Linked DNA regions of Homo sapiens: region 1 is linked to region 2. The links are contacts of gene promoters, found by promoter capture Hi-C in blood cells and fetal thymus (Javierre and others, 2016). All regions are on one chromosome and are shown on one strand. The core of a region is centred on a gene start or on the middle of the fragment in contact, and the rest is flanking DNA. Distances in the headings are between cores, read along the strand shown.

The links. The method cuts DNA at HindIII sites, captures the fragments that hold promoters and counts their contacts. A CHiCAGO score of 5 or more calls a contact.
Region 1: a contact is called between a fragment that was not itself captured here and the fragment with the promoter of FANCC in region 2, in 1 of 17 cell types (total B cells). The highest score is 5.4, in total B cells.

The regions. Positions count from the first base shown.
Region 1 is chr9:97,410,596-97,418,336 of GRCh38, reverse strand. TDRD7 (tudor domain containing 7) reads right to left here and starts at 6,241. Exons shown (of 17, transcript NM_014290.3): 1 at 6,099-6,241. RefSeq lists enhancers at 5,395-5,654, 5,259-5,758, 5,759-6,260 and silencers at 5,596-5,890, 5,975-6,184, 6,205-6,554. The HindIII fragment of the contact is 157 bases long and covers 3,987-4,143 here.
Region 2 is chr9:95,316,232-95,323,809 of GRCh38, reverse strand. FANCC (FA complementation group C) reads left to right here and starts at 6,101. Exons shown (of 15, transcript NM_000136.3): 1 at 6,101-6,284. RefSeq lists a silencer at 6,430-6,749. The HindIII fragment of the contact is 1,904 bases long and covers 5,542-7,445 here.

The sequences.
Region 1 (7,741 bases), core at 2,816-5,315, 2.1 Mb before region 2:
AAATTAAATAAAATACCAGTGTGAATCTGCACGGCACAGAAGTGCTCATCCTTATTTTTCACTTTTCCCACCCTATCCAACCTCACATTTACCCACCTTGATTTCTTGGCATTGTCAGACTGTTTTTTCTAAGTTATATTTCTCAATCTGACCTGAGAAAAGCTTATGCCACACACATACTTCCTACTTTCACTCCCCCTTTATTTTTCCCCCAGATAGAGTCTTGCTCTGTCACCCAGGCTGGAGGGCAGTGGCGTGATCTCCGCTCACTGCAACCTCTGCCTCCTAGGTTGAAGCAATTCTCCTGCCTCAGCCTCTTGAATAGCTGGGATTCCAGGCACCCATCACCATGCCTGGCTACTTTTTGTATTTTTAGTAGGGACGGGGTTTCACCATGTTGGCCAGGCTGGTCTTGAACTCCTGACCTCACGATCCACCTGCCTTGGCCTCCCAAAGTGCTGGGATTACAGGTGTGAGCCACCGTGCCTGGCCTTTCACCCCCTTTTTAATGCACATATTATCACAGTTAAAATCTACTTTAAAATATTTCAATAGTAAAGTTGCTAACACCTGGCCATTGATATATTTTGATTTGGTTTTGGGGGAAGGGCAGGGGATTGCAGAAGATTATGCCTGAGCCTCCTTTTACTTGTGTTCCGCAAGTTTAATGCCACTGCTCACTCATTTTCCTGGGATAAGCCCCTTCTCCTGGATCTCATTCTCTTTATCTGTAAGATGAGTGAGGTCAGTATTAGTTCTCAATCCTCCCCCAAGCAATGTGATACATAAAGATGGAAGGCGGATGTCTACAATTCCTTCACTCTTCACCACTTCCATGGCAGTTGTCCTAGTCCGTGTCAGCAACATCTCTTTCCTGGAGCAGAGCAGCTGGGCTCTTAGCTGGTCTCTCTGCTTCCACTTCACCTCCTAGAATCTGTTCTCCACATATCAGCCTGAGTGATCTTTTCATATAATATATACTATTATATCACGTCACTCAAAACCCTCTAATGCTTCCTGTGTTAACTCAGACAAAAAGCCAAGTCCTTACAGAGCCAAAAAGGGCCCTGCATAACCTGCAACCCCCACTTCTTTGCCCTAAGTTCTCTCTTCTCTTTATTTTCATTCACCCATCCTGGGCTCCATGCTTTTCCTTGAACATGCCTGAGATGGCCTCACAACAGGGCTTTTGTACTTGCCATTCTCTCTACCTGGGACATATTGACTCCAGGGGCACATGTGGCTCACAGCCTTACCTCCTTCAGCTAAAGTACGTGCTCAACTGTCACCTCCACAGTAAGGCCTTCTCTGGCCACCCTATTCAAAATCAAAACTGAGATGCCAGCTTCCCTGATTTTCTCCTTAGCACTTATCACCATCCAATATTCTTCTCCATTTAATGGTTTTATCTTTCTCCCCAACTTCAATGCAAGCTCCATGAAAGCAAGGATTTGTGTCTGTTTTGTTCATTGCTGAATCCCTAGTGCCTAGCCCACCGAGAGCTCAATAAATATTTGTTGAATGAATAAGAAATTCTCCATCCACCTACCACTCCTTTTCTCTCCTACTCACTAAAATACAGCATAACATAGGTGAGCTATTAAAGGCATAACTCTGAATCCAATTTAAGTTACTAAAAAATTATCTGCAAATGTTAACAATTCTTATAAACTGAATGAGACAGCCAATCGCAACACCAAACTGTGGTTGAGAATCATCAAGTAGATTATTTCTGAGCATGTCCACTCTGAGCCAGATTAGGCCCTGTCAGGGCCGCAGCATGATTGCAAGGAGCCCACACATCCTGACAAGCAGCAGGCACGGCTTGAATATTAGTAAATGTCTCACATGTACTTATAGTCCTGTTTTTCAGAGTGTGCAGATATTATTGGGATCCATAAACACAAACTGATATTAAATTCACAACAGCTTTTGGTAGTTATATGTTTAATTGACCAATGGATACTGCAAGCACAACTACTAGTGTATGAGGTTTCACGAAATTTTTCTAAAGCTACAAAAAATGGCCTCATACTTGAGGAGACTGAGAATCAACGCTTGACCACATGGTTGCAATCTGTAAATTAAGTTCCCTCCCCCTGCCTGCCTTTTTAAAGTATGCTATCTTTCATGGAGGACTATAACTCTCTATTTGCAAACAACTTTTTGAAGGGAAGGGGAATCCCTTGGAGTATAAGACTGTGGGTCTCCAAGCTGGTGAGAAGCAGTTAAATGCAGTAAAACCTGGAAGGCTAAATGTGATTGTATTCAAATGCACGACTTGCCAGTCTGATTTCAATTCCCACATTAGCAACATCACTTCAGGCAGTGAACGAAAAAGAAAGTGTAAGCTTTAAAAAAAATCGTCATTATTTTCTAAACTATATCACTTTGGAAATGCTCTGAGTTTTGTTACGTGGCTCATGATGACTTTTTTTTGAAACTTTCGGAAGATGGCAATTATACTCTCAAGGTATATAAGAATACTTTGTTCTAACTATAAAAATAAAGTTTAATATCTTAGACATCATCCATTAGAAGCATAAAAGAAAGTATATCATAGGAATTTCAACTGGAGTGCAGTGGCGCAATCTTGGCTCACTGCAACCTCCGCCTGCCGGGTTCAAGTGATTCTCCCGCCTCAGCCTCCTGAGTAGCTGAGACTATCTTTTTTATGCTTTCGTGCTTTCCTTTTTTTCTTCGCTTATACCCAGTTAATCTTAATTATCCAAGACACTAATAATGCACATGAGGTGGGGTGGGGAGTTGGGGAGTGATGACAATCTTTAGGGAAACAAAATTTAAATAATTTAAGTGGCCTAAAATAATTCTCACTCTACTTCAAAACTGCATTTTGTAAATTCACAGCTTTTCTCTTTACTATACCTGAAAATGGCCCAAGGAAGTCCTATTCTGAAGAACCTGGTTTTGGTGTATCCCAGATAAACGCCTTCTACCATTGATTGATCCTCCCTGGCTCAGTCATTTGCATGTTATCTGCTTCCTCTAACTACTGGTGTCAAAGGCCTTTAGCTGAGCTAGTCTGGCTTCCATCCTATGCCTTCTCTTTTCTAAGTTTCTTCTTGCTCAACTATTTCCAACTGTATGATTTGGCTCATCTTCCTTACTACATTTTTCATGTCATCAGTTTAAGTTGTCGAGTGGCACTAAATCTTAAAACAAATCAGAAGAATTATTAGGGTAAACTGAAAACACCAAGTAATCTCTCTTAGCTTCTTTTAGTTAGATGTTCAATTTTGAAGTATCTGGATATCTCTTTAGGGCATATACTTCTAATAACTAACTGCCCTTCTCCTTGAAGACACTATTTTAGCAACAGCGGGAACTTAAAGTCCCATAATGTCTGTGCTGACACATTTTAGGCATCGTCTAGGCTAACCCAAGCTCCTTATCTTACAAATCAATAAACTGAGCCTCAGAGGGAAAATTTTTTCCTAAGATCTTTACCCAATAAATGATTTCTCACCTTGCGACACTTTTAAATGCTCTTTTCTTTCTAATCATAGTCTGTTACCACTTCAATTACTCCTTCACCAACCGGTTTTTAAAGGAAAAAGATGATTAATACCCTCAGATGATGGTATACTTCCTTAAGAGTTTTTTTCAGGGAGTTATCTTTTTTATTCTTGTGATCTCAAGTTCCAAATTATTCGTGCATTTTAACTGCATACCACGAATGTACGTAAGTAAGGGATTTCCATAAGTCTACATACTAGACGAAAAAACCCTGAGATAATAAAGTGGCTTAGTAAGGAGTTTGTGTCTTAATCCTAGTTCCGCTACTGATTACCTGTGACAAGTCACTTCAGGTCTCTTTTTTTCACAAGGAAGATAAGAAAGGTGGGCAAGAGCCATGATTCTCAACTTTCCTTGGATTCACTGAAGGCTGAAATAAGGTCCAAATATGTAATGAAAACCGAGTTTGCTTACTCATGACAAAGCTGCACAGGCTAAAATGCCAAGCTTACTTTGAAGTCACACTGGGTAGCTTGCACTGATCAAGTTCTGATTGGCATATATACATGTCTTCAACTAAAAATTGCAAAATTAATTACTTTTAGTTTGAAAGACAAAACTGTAAACATATTTGGCTTACAGGGAAATAATGACAAGAATGAAGCTTTCAAAAGTACAGAGGTGGGAGTGGAGGGAGGAAAAAGCAGGTTTGGCACAAAGAAACAACAGTTCACGTAAATATAAAATTTCACCAAGGAACTTCTGTGAAAGTGTCCAGATGCAAAGCACTCTATGTCAAATCTCAATTCTTGAAAACAGCACTTGACAAACACAAATTAGGCACTCGGGGTTGGATTATATTTTTTCTTTATATTCACATTAAGTATCCAGCTAGATTATATTGCACAGAGAACTTAAAAGAGGGGTTCTGCAAGGAGTTTAAAATCTCTTGATGCACAATACAATAGTTCATTCAGCCATGTTCAACCTGTACACTTAAAAGGGCATTAGCAGGGGATTACACTTCATTTTCAATCTACAGAGACTGAAATCTGAAGGCACTGCCAACTGCTGCCTCACAGTCTCACCGTGCAACTACCAAAGACGGAGGCTGTGTGCCACCAAAGGGCCCTGGATTGGGGCACAGGAGATGTGAGTGCTAATCCAGCTGGCCCCAGGGGCAATTCCCTATACCCAGAACAGTACTTTGCACGTAACTGATGCTCAATGAATGTCAGCTGAGAGGAAATGCAAAAATATCCACCATGTGCCCATTTATATTATATAGTAAACACAAAGATCTTTGTGTCCCTGCCCTCAAAAAACTAAAATCCAATTATGTAAAACATGGACCGTTTGTTGGGAGGAAGAGAGTGAATACTGCTTGGCAATTATTATGAGGCAAAGGATATACAGTGGTTATCTTGGAAAAGCCTTGCAAAGTAAGCCAGGTACCTCTATTTGACACATAGAAAACCAGGCTAAGAGAAAGCATGTAATTTGTTCAAGATCACACAATTTGTAAAATGAGAAGCCCAGATTTCAATCCAGGTCTGCAAAGTTCACATTATTTGCAGTATGCAACACATTCATACACATCAAGGCAGCCCAGGACGAGACAGGGATTTGGGTCCAAGTTTTACTTCTGCTATTAAGCTGTTGCCTATCTCTCTAGAGAGAACATTTCTCTGCATTTTTTTCACCGGCACGATTGGAGAGCAGAGAGGTGTTGGTAGGAGGGTTAATGAACTAGATCTGTGGTTTTTTGGTTTGGTTTGGTTTGGATGGGCGGTGATCAGAATTCTTCTGGGCCAGGACTTGTTCTAATGTGGTTGTTTCCCTTCCCTGCTCTTAGAAATTATTTGAGAATGGTACCTTTAGCTATTAATGGAAATATACCTCTCAAGTGAATGGGAGCAGAAAGATATGCCGGCTCCAAGCTCCCTCCTAGCAAGCTGAAGCTGAGAGTCTGACCCTGCTGAGGGGATGCTACTGAAAGTTGAGAGACAACTTACTCACGGATCCATGTTTCCCTCCCAGCTGGGTGCTCTGTACCCACTGGGTGCTCCTCGTTTGAGAGAAATGGGGATGTGTGTCCTGCATTACTTAAGCGGCCTGCCTGGGGCTCGTCTCCAGATTATAGAGACCTTCAAGAGAAGTTCGTGGTGTAAAATACTTGGGTTCAAATAGGGGAGCGCGGACATCCCTCGCTGGGGGCGGCGGCTGCGGCCTGTCGCGCCGGTAGCGGGAACCACTTCCTGGTCCGCATCTCCCGCCCGCGTCCACACCCCGCTGCTGCATTTCCCCCACGGCGCAGAGCTTCCGAGGCGGCAGGAGGCTCCGTCCGACTCCCGCGTGAACGCCCGGCCCGGAGCAGGGTCCCTTCAGAGATTTAAAACACAACGCTCTGGAACTCCAACTCCCCCGGCGCCCAGCCCGGTTCCCAGGCGTCGGGGCGGGGGCAATCCCCTGCGGCTGCAGGGAAAAGGCCCCGAGCCTGTTGGAGCCCCCGGCCCTGGCCGCGGTCCCACCGGTGACCCAGGTGCGCCGCGCCCGCCCGAAATCTCGTCCGACGTCGCCCGGCACCTGTCGCGCCCGGAGCCCGCAGGACCTGCACTCACCTCGTTCCGGGGGCCCACGGCCCGTCCCCGCGTCTCTGGGCCCAGCTCCTGCCGCCGTCTCCGCCAGGGGCCCCGCCGCGGCCGCCGCCCACTTTCGGTTTCCCCGCACCACCGGAGCCGCCCCGCGGCTTGGGAATCACCTCAAGCCCCCGCCCCGCCCTGCTCGGCCCCGCCCCGCTTCGCCCCGCCCCGCTTCGAGGGCAGCCTGGCCTCGGCTCTGCGCACGCGCGGGCGCTCCGGCCGCGTCGGCCCACGCCGGCGTCCGCGCGTGGGAAGGGAAACCGTCGCCACCTAGCGGTTTCTGCGCGTGCCCACGCACCGGCCGGCGGCGGAAGACGCCTGCGGGGCGGGTGCGGGAGCGCCTCCTGGTGGACAACGCAGGTACGCGCGGGCCGAGCGAGCCGGGACTCAGCAGGGGGCGAGGGTGGCTCCTTCTATGGGGCTCACCCTCCTTCCAAACAGTTCAACTCCTGCACATTATTTTCTTCAACATCTGGAGCAGTTACTTTTTATTGCCCTAGACACACACTCTGTCCGCCCATATCCTTCAGGCCTTTCTCAAGCATTACCCTTTCAATGACGGTGGACACAGTCTCTAACATGTCAACCTCCTTCCTTGACTTTCCCTATCCCCATTCTCAACCTTATTTCTCCTTAGCACCTATCTAGCACACTATATGTATTTTACTTATGCTTTTATTGTCTGCTATCCTTCTAAAATTAAAGCTCTGTGAGCACAAGGATTTTTGTTTGGTTCCTTAACCTATTCCCAGAGCCTAGGATAGTGCCTAGCACACGATCAGCAATAAATATCTGTCAAATTTATTCATTCACTCTAAAGTTATTGAACACCTAATAAGTGAATACTTATTTATTCTGCACATTAATTCCACCAACACTTATTGGCACCTGCTTTGCATCCCTGCAGCCAACATTGAACACTTCTCTGCACCATTGGATATGCATTTACTGAGAACCTGCTGCTTATTCAACCGGTATTTTATTACAGCTTGACTGCCATGTATAAGACATACAATAAACTGAACGTTTAAAATGTACAGCTTGATAAATTATGCATTTACTGAGAACCTGCTGCTTATTCAACCGGTATTTTATTACAGCTTGACTGCCATGTATAAGACATACAATAAACTGAACGTTTAAAATGTACAGCTTGATAAATTATGCATTTACTGAGAACCTGCTGCTTATTCAACCGGTATTTTATTACAGCTTGACTGCCATGTATAAGACATACAATAAACTGAATGTTTAAAATGTACAGTTTGATAAGTTTTGATATATATATATCACTGTGAGACCATCACTGCAATCAAAATCATGAACATATCCATCACCCAAAAAAGTTTTACTGTGATCCTTTGTAATTCTTATATCTTGTCCCTCCCTGTCACTTGCCCCCTCAACTGCTCACCTGCTTTCTGTTGCTATAGATTATTTTGCTTTTTCTAGAGTTATATGTAAAACTTTTATGTATGGAATCGTATGTACTATCCTTTGGGGGGCTGCCTGGCTTCTTTTATTTAGCAAATTATGTTCATCCATGTTGTTACATGTATCAATAGTTCATGTCTTTCTATTGCTGAATGGTATTGTAGGGATGTACCAAACCTACCACGCAA
Region 2 (7,578 bases), core at 4,852-7,351:
TGCTCTGACCACCTTGGGCACATGTCATCAGGACCTCCTGAGCCTGTGTTATGGGTGTGTGTCCTCAACCTTGGCAAAATAAACTTTCTAAATTAACTGAGACCTGTCTCAGATATTTGGGGTTTGCAATTATAAAGTCCAGAGTTAGGCAAGCCAGGTAATTCTCATGATTATTGGGAACCCAGGGTCCTCCTTCTTCTTTTTCTTTTTTCTTTTTTCTTTTTTCCTTTTTTGAGACAGAGTTTCACTCTTGCTGCCCAGGCTGGAGTGCAATGGAGTGATCTCGGCTCACAGCAACCTCTGCCCCCCAGGTTCAAATAATTCTCCTGCCTCAGCCCCCCAAGTACCTGGGATTACAGGCATGAGCCACCATGCCCAGCTAATTTTATATTTTTTTTAGTAGAGACAGGGTTACTCCATGGTAGTCAGGCTGATCTCACAGTTCTGACCTCAGATGATCCACCCGCCTCAGCCTCCCAAAGCACTGGGATTATAGGCGTGAGCCACCGTGCCCAGCCCTCCTTTTTTTTTTTTGCTCTGCCATCCTCATTCTGTGACTATCATCCTTGAGAGTTGTTTATAGTCCAAGATGACGGAAACTTAAGCCCTTCTGCCCTTATACTAAGTAGGAAGCAGGAGAGAGGGGAAGAGGGCTAAATATCTCCTGGCCTCTCTTGTCTTTCCACCTTTTCTCTCTCACTGGCTACAGCTGAGTTGCTGGCCACCCCTAGTCGGAATGGAGTCTAGTTGTAGGGAAGGTGGTCCTTTTTATTGGGCACATTGCCGTGCTAAGTAAAAGCAGTGTTCTGATACTAACAAGGGGAGGAAGTGGTAAAATGAGATGAATAAAAACAACATAATGAGTTTTTCATGAAATAAAACTTATTCAATTTAAAAGACTGTTCTTTGAGACTTTTTCCCTTCATCTTGTCTTAAAGTTAAAAATACATTTCTTAAAAAATGAAATTATAATTATGGCAGACTTTTTTCTCCTAAGGTCTTTACTTGACCAAATAAAAAGTTGTTAACTCTGTTAACTTCTAATATTACTGACATTTCACTGGCCCCCTCCCCTGCCAAATCCAAAACCTAGAGAACTCCTGCTTTCTCTCAACTCTAAAATACTTAGATCTGTGTCTTTCACACAGCGTATAGGCTTTGTGCTTTATGCTTTGTAGTGATTGGGTTGAGAACATGCTTCTGCTAAATACAGCATGTTGATATTTGAAAACATGGCAGAAGCTGGAAAGTCACTCTCACCTTCCCTCCTCTCCTTTCTCCTGATGCGGGTCATAAAACCTTGGAATGATTTTCTGAACTTCCCCTGAAGCAGGTCCTAAGACCCTCATGTAAGAAGTGCTGCCTATATCCACAGTACCTATCTCCACAGGAAAGGTACTTTCTTACCTCTGAAGACTGACGGGTTACAGAGAAAAATCTGAACAAATAAGCCTTGCTAAATTCCCCCCAAGTTTATTCCCATCTTTGTTCAACTGTATCTCCCCACAACTGTCCACTCTTCATGAAACCTGGCATAGAAACACACAAGTTTAACAGCTTCTCTGGGTCTTCCTTTCCTTAGGAAGGCTCCTATGTCATGGGAAACTTACATGCAATGTCTATGCTTTGCTCCTGTTAATCTTTTATTATGGAGGCCTCAGCCATGAACCTAGGATGGGTACAGAAAAGCCATTTTTCATTCCCTATAGTAATCTCGCAATAGGTATCTATTGATTAATTTATCAAATAGGCTCAGCCAAAGTGCGAATGCCCAGTGACACAATGAAGAGCTGCCACCTCCAGGTTCTTAGTCAGGGCTTGCTTTGCAGTGAGGGAGAGAAACTCACTGAAGTCAGCATAGGTAAAGGGATGACTGTTGCAAGGATATGGGGCAATCCTGTGGACAACTAAGAACAGAAAAAATATATAGTCAGTTAACCTTAAAATTAGGCTTAAAAATAAAAAATAAGGAATGGAAGCTCCCCTCTCTCTCACAGAATAAATAACAGCCTTTCAACGTCATTTTGCTTTTCTCTGCCAGCCAACTTTCTTTGCTACTTACATATTTTTCTTCCCCAAGTAACTCCAGTTGGCATGAGGGCTTTAGCTCCTGTTGTATAGAGATGTTACAGTCTCTCAGTGTTGCAATTCCAAATTCCCCAGCAATAGTTTGATTGGTTCAGCTAGGGTCAGGCTACCATCTCTGGTTCAATTAGCTGTGGCTAGTAATGGAGGCTCTAGTACAAACATGTCCTCCTAGGTGCATTCTTTCAGCAGAGCCTAGGGAGTGAGCATATCGGGGGCAGGGTAGAAGTGGCAGCTTCCATGCAGCATTTATAATACATTTCCCTTTTTCCATGAATTTCCATCTCCTGCAGCCATCCCTTTCTTGGCCTTTTCCCCTTCACGGTGGCAGATCAAAGCCCTTCACTATTATCTGCTCCGTTTCTTAAAGTGTTTCTGGCACAAAAAATATTCTCATTGTTCTCTTCTCTAGTTCAACTTACATTTCCTCAGTTGGAATGTTTTAATGGGAAAGTAATGTGGTGATTAGAGTGCAGAAGCCTCTGGGATCACCTCACCCTATTTTCAAGTCACCAGCCTGGGCCAGGAGCAAGAACATTATAAGTAAGAGGCCACTGTAAATGGAGTTGAAGCCAGGTTCCACCCTCCACTAGAAGAGATGGCTCTGTGCATGAGTTTCTGTATCTGTGAAAGTGGAATATTACCACTGTGGATTACATAAGATCACTGTGAGAATCAAAGGGAATAACCCAGGCCAAGGAGTTAGCCCAGTGCCTGGAACTTCAACACGCATTATTCACAACTGAGGTACAAGAGGCAAATATCAAAGCCATGGACAAGATAGTGTTAAGGGCGTGATGGCATGTGCCTGTAATCCCAGCTACTCATGAGGCTGAAGCATGAGAATTGCTTGAACCGGTGAGGCAAAGGTTGCAGTGAGCTGAGCTGAGATCATGCTACTGCACTCCAGCCTGGGCGACTGAGTGAGACTCTGTCTCAAAAAAAAAAAAAAAAAAAAGAAAAGATAATGTTAAATGTTGGGGTGCCAAATAAGGACTGGAAACCAGGTGGGTGGTGTCTGAACTAATTCTGGAAGTAGGAGTCTTGGTACAATGGTTTCCACAACGTGGATTCTAAGACAGTTGATTCTATTTGTTGAACTTTGAAGGAAGGTTTGATAATGTCAGGAACTTTGCAGCACTCAGCCAATTGACTTGTTTTCCTCTAGAATGTAAAGATTTAATGTAAACGATGTAATAATTTTCACCTAAATAGGCCATTTTTCATTTTGCGACATTATTTGTGATTGGGTTCTATACTACAACCAAAACTGTGTTCCAGAGTAACACACACCTGGGCCCGGTGGCCCACGCCTGTAATTCCAGCATTTTGGTGCCACTGAGGTGGTTGGATTGCTTAAGCGCAGAGGTCGAGGCTGCAGTGAGCTGTGTTTGCACCACTGCACTTCAGCCTGGGTGAGAGTGAGATGCAGTCTCAAAACAAACAAATCAAAACCACACACACACACACACACACTCCCACACACAAACAAAAATTGGATCACCCATAATCAATTTTATGATTCAATTAAAAAGAGGGTTTGTATTGAAATATCTGTTTCTCTGGAAACTTTCTGGGCATTTTACAAAGTGAACATCTCACTATTGCTTAAAATATTATTAAGATAGTTCCATGTATATGAATGCCAGGCAAAATGAATCCCTATAAATATAAGTTTGGATCTTTATGCTATATATGCTTCCTATTTAGGTCTAATTTAGGCCTAAACATGGTGTCATTTCATATACTGCAAAGTTGGATGAGCCTAGCAATTCTTTATTAACCACTGAACTAAAAAGACAGAAAACTGGGATATGGCAAGACATCAATCATTAACAAACACTAAAAATGATTTTTCAGCGAATATGTAAAAGGATGTGGGTACCAAAATAGATAATTTCTCTCAAGAAATACATACTTTAATTGCTTTCTTTGCTGATAAATGCAGAACTTAAACGTCAACTCACTCTCGATTTGTTACCACAGAGGTGACTTTCTCATGGTCAAGGTGCCACGATGAGTGCCCCTCAGGCATGTATTTCCCTACCCAGGACTTGCTTTTGATTTATCCATGTCACACTATGCACACATCAAAAACACATCGACCTCTCTGCTGTAAAACAGAACGAAATCATGTCCTTTGCAGCAACATGGATGGAGCTGGAGGACATTATCCTAAGTGAACAAACTCAGAAACAGAAAATCAAATATTGCATGTTCTCATAAGCGGGAGCTAAACAATAGGTATACATGTACATAAGAATGGGAATAACAAGACACTGGGGACTCCAAAAAGGGAGAGGGTGGGAAGGGGGTGAGGGCTGAAAAATTAGCTATTGGGTACAATGTTCAATGTTTGGGGGACAGGTACACCAGAAGCCCAATCCCCACCATTACACAATATACCTATGTAACAAGCAAGCACATGTACCCCCGAATCTAAAATTAAAAAACAATCAAAAAGCACCGACTTCCTTAACTGGCATGGAATAGTTTCGAGAATGGATGTAAACACCGAATTCCTTAATGTAGTTGCAGATTCTGCCAGTTTTGTCTCAACCTCTGGATCGGTTCCTTTTTTTAACTACCTTTAATTCTTAAACAGATTGTTGCTATTGCTATGCTATATACTTATTGTATCACTTATAAATGTATAACCTCTGCAAATTAGTCTCTGAATTGAAAGTATTCATTGGTAAAACGGGTATTTCTTCACCATAGGAATAGTTGGACATGTTTAAATACTTGAGAGCTATTTTTATTACAAGCACACACAGCTTTGTGGTGTTTTTTGTTGAGACAGAGTCTCGCTCTGTTGCCCAGGCTGGAGTGCAGTAGTGCGATCTTGGCTTACTGCAACCTTCGCCTCCTGGGTTCAAGCAATTCTCCTGCCTCAGCCTCCTAAGTAGCCGGGAGTACACACTAATTTTTGTATTTTTAGTAGAGACGGGTTTTTGCCATGTTGGCCAGGCTGGTCTCAAACTCTTGACCTCAGGTGATCCACCCGCCTCAGCTTCCCAAAGTGCTGGGATTAGAGGTGTGAGCCACCGCGCCCGGCCTGTAGTGTGTTTTTGAACGTATATGTGAAGTTGTAGCTTTTTTTTTTTTTTTTTTGAGACGGAGTCTCCCTCTGTCGCCAGGCTGGAGTGCAGTGGCGCGATCTCGGCTCACTGCAACCTCTGACTCCCTGGTTCAAGCTATTCTGCCTCAGCCTCCAGAGTAGCTGAGATTACAGGCGCCCGCCACCGCGCCCGGTTAAACGTTTTGTATTTTTAGTAGAGACGGCGTTTCACCATGTTGGCCAGAATGGTCTCGATCTTCTGACCTCGTGATCCGCCCGCCTTGGCCTTCCAAAGTGCTGGGATTACAGGCCTGAGACACAGCGCCCGACCTAAGCTGTAGTTTTATGATTATGATTTATGGTTGTGAGGCATTGATTTAAGACATTTTAAAGCTTAAGTCGTCAGATCCTAGAAGAAAAAAAAATTCACCAAGACAAGCTAATGCCATTGTCATAAATGGGAGTTTGGAGAAAATTTTATTAATATTTGTTTGGGTGGTTTATGTACAGCGTTGAACTGATTTGAACCCCGACCAAACACTGTATGGAACTAATGTACGGTAGGGGAAATCATTAACTGAAGATGCCTTTTTTGTTGCTATTGTTTAGAACGCAGTTAGAAAATCTTATTTTAGAGGTTTTACCCCGTTGACAAAGCCTCAACTTTTCTTCAAAAGAACTAATTTCCATTTTACCTCCCCTACATTTTGAACAGAATATGGAAGAAGCCAGCGCCCCTTCTCCGCGGGCGCTGCTGCAACCCTGCTCCCGCCGGGGCTTCCGCGCGAAACCGGGAACACTGGAGCAGTACCGACTCCGCTCGCCTAGAACCCGCCCCAGCCGGGCCCACTTCCGCCAGAGCCCTGGCCGCGCCCGCCCCGCCCCACGGACCCGAGATTCGTCGGAATTTTCCCGCGACGCCGCGGGAGCGCGCGGGGCCGCTAGCCAGGCCCCAGAATGCACTGCTGACACGTGTGCGCGCGCGCGGCTCCACTGCCGGGCGACCGCGGGAAAATTCCAAAAAAACTCAAAAAGCCAATACGAGGCAAAGCCAAATTTTCAAGCCACAGATCCCGGGCGGTGGCTTCCTTTCCGCCACTGCCCAAACTGCTGAAGCAGCTCCCGCGAGGACCACCCGGTAAGCGGCAGGCCGCAGAACGCAGCGAGGGCGGAGGCTTCCCTCGGGGGTCTGGCCGACACGTCAGCGGCGAGAGCGGGAGGAGGAGGCGAGGGGCAAGAGGGAAGGCTCGCGAGAGCGGGTGGGCCAGGCGCGCCTTGCGGTGGGCGAGAGGGGTTCCCGCCGGCGCAGGGCTGTGGCTAAGGCTGAGGCGGGAGGCGGGAGGCGGGAGGCGGAAGGTGGCGGGCGGTGCCAGCCCGCGGGGCGGGGCCAGGGCGGGGAAAGCGGGGGCGGGAGCCGGCGCTGGGGTCGCGCGGAAGGGAGCCCCCGGAGAGGCGGGAGCCGGGTGTTGGCGTTTTGGTTCTTTTTGTTCATTGAGCGCAGGCAGCTATGTCTTCTTCAAAGGAGAGGAGCAAAGGTGAATTTCTCTGCCTCGGACTCGTGGGAGCCGTGAAAAGCTCGCCCCTTTGAGCCGGTCGCCCTCTACAGCTGGCCTCGTCCTCCCCGTCCCTCACACCCCTGCCCCCAAACCCCATTCGCCGGGGCGCCAGGAGGGGCGAGGTCCAATTAGAGGAGCCCGGGGCGCGGCTGTTACCCCTCCCGCCCTCCGCCTTTTATTCCCGGAGGGAGGCGGGTTCGCAGAGGCCAGTGTCTTCCCTCCATTCTTTTTGTGGACGCCAGGCCATATCTTCAAAGCCCGTGAGAGATTTTTCAGGTGCTGTTTGTTGGTTTGCTCTTTTTAATTTTTTAGGTGGGTGCGTTTACAACTACGAACCCTCTATGATCTTATGTGTCCAGCGCACCGAATGGGGGAAAAGACTTGGAGTTTTATAACATGGGAAATTGGGTACCAGAATCTTAAGGGAAGAGACCAAGGAGTTTTCTAGCAAAGTCCTGTATGTGCCTGGACTTTTGTTCTAATCTGAAACTTGGAAAACTCCCGGGCATCTGATTTTATTCTAACTTGTGCCCCATTTAATGCATCTAAACTGTGATGTGATTTGACTTAGCATTTATCAAATGAGCAGAGCACTTTTGGGCCACCCAACTTCAGCTCTTTGTGGCTGTCACTCACTGTCAGTGATATGCCCTCAGACAGATCGTTTTCTCCTTACTCCCCTGAAAGGTTGTTACAAACAGTAGAATTCATACCATGTGTTGAGATCATTCATTACCTAAGCTTAGATGGAAAACATGTTCATTGCGACTTTATACATTAAACTTGAATTGATGTTTCAATGTTATGTGCTGTACCAGAGTCACCTGGAAATAAGCACTCATATACATTATTCATATACAAGAAAGGCTGCATCGA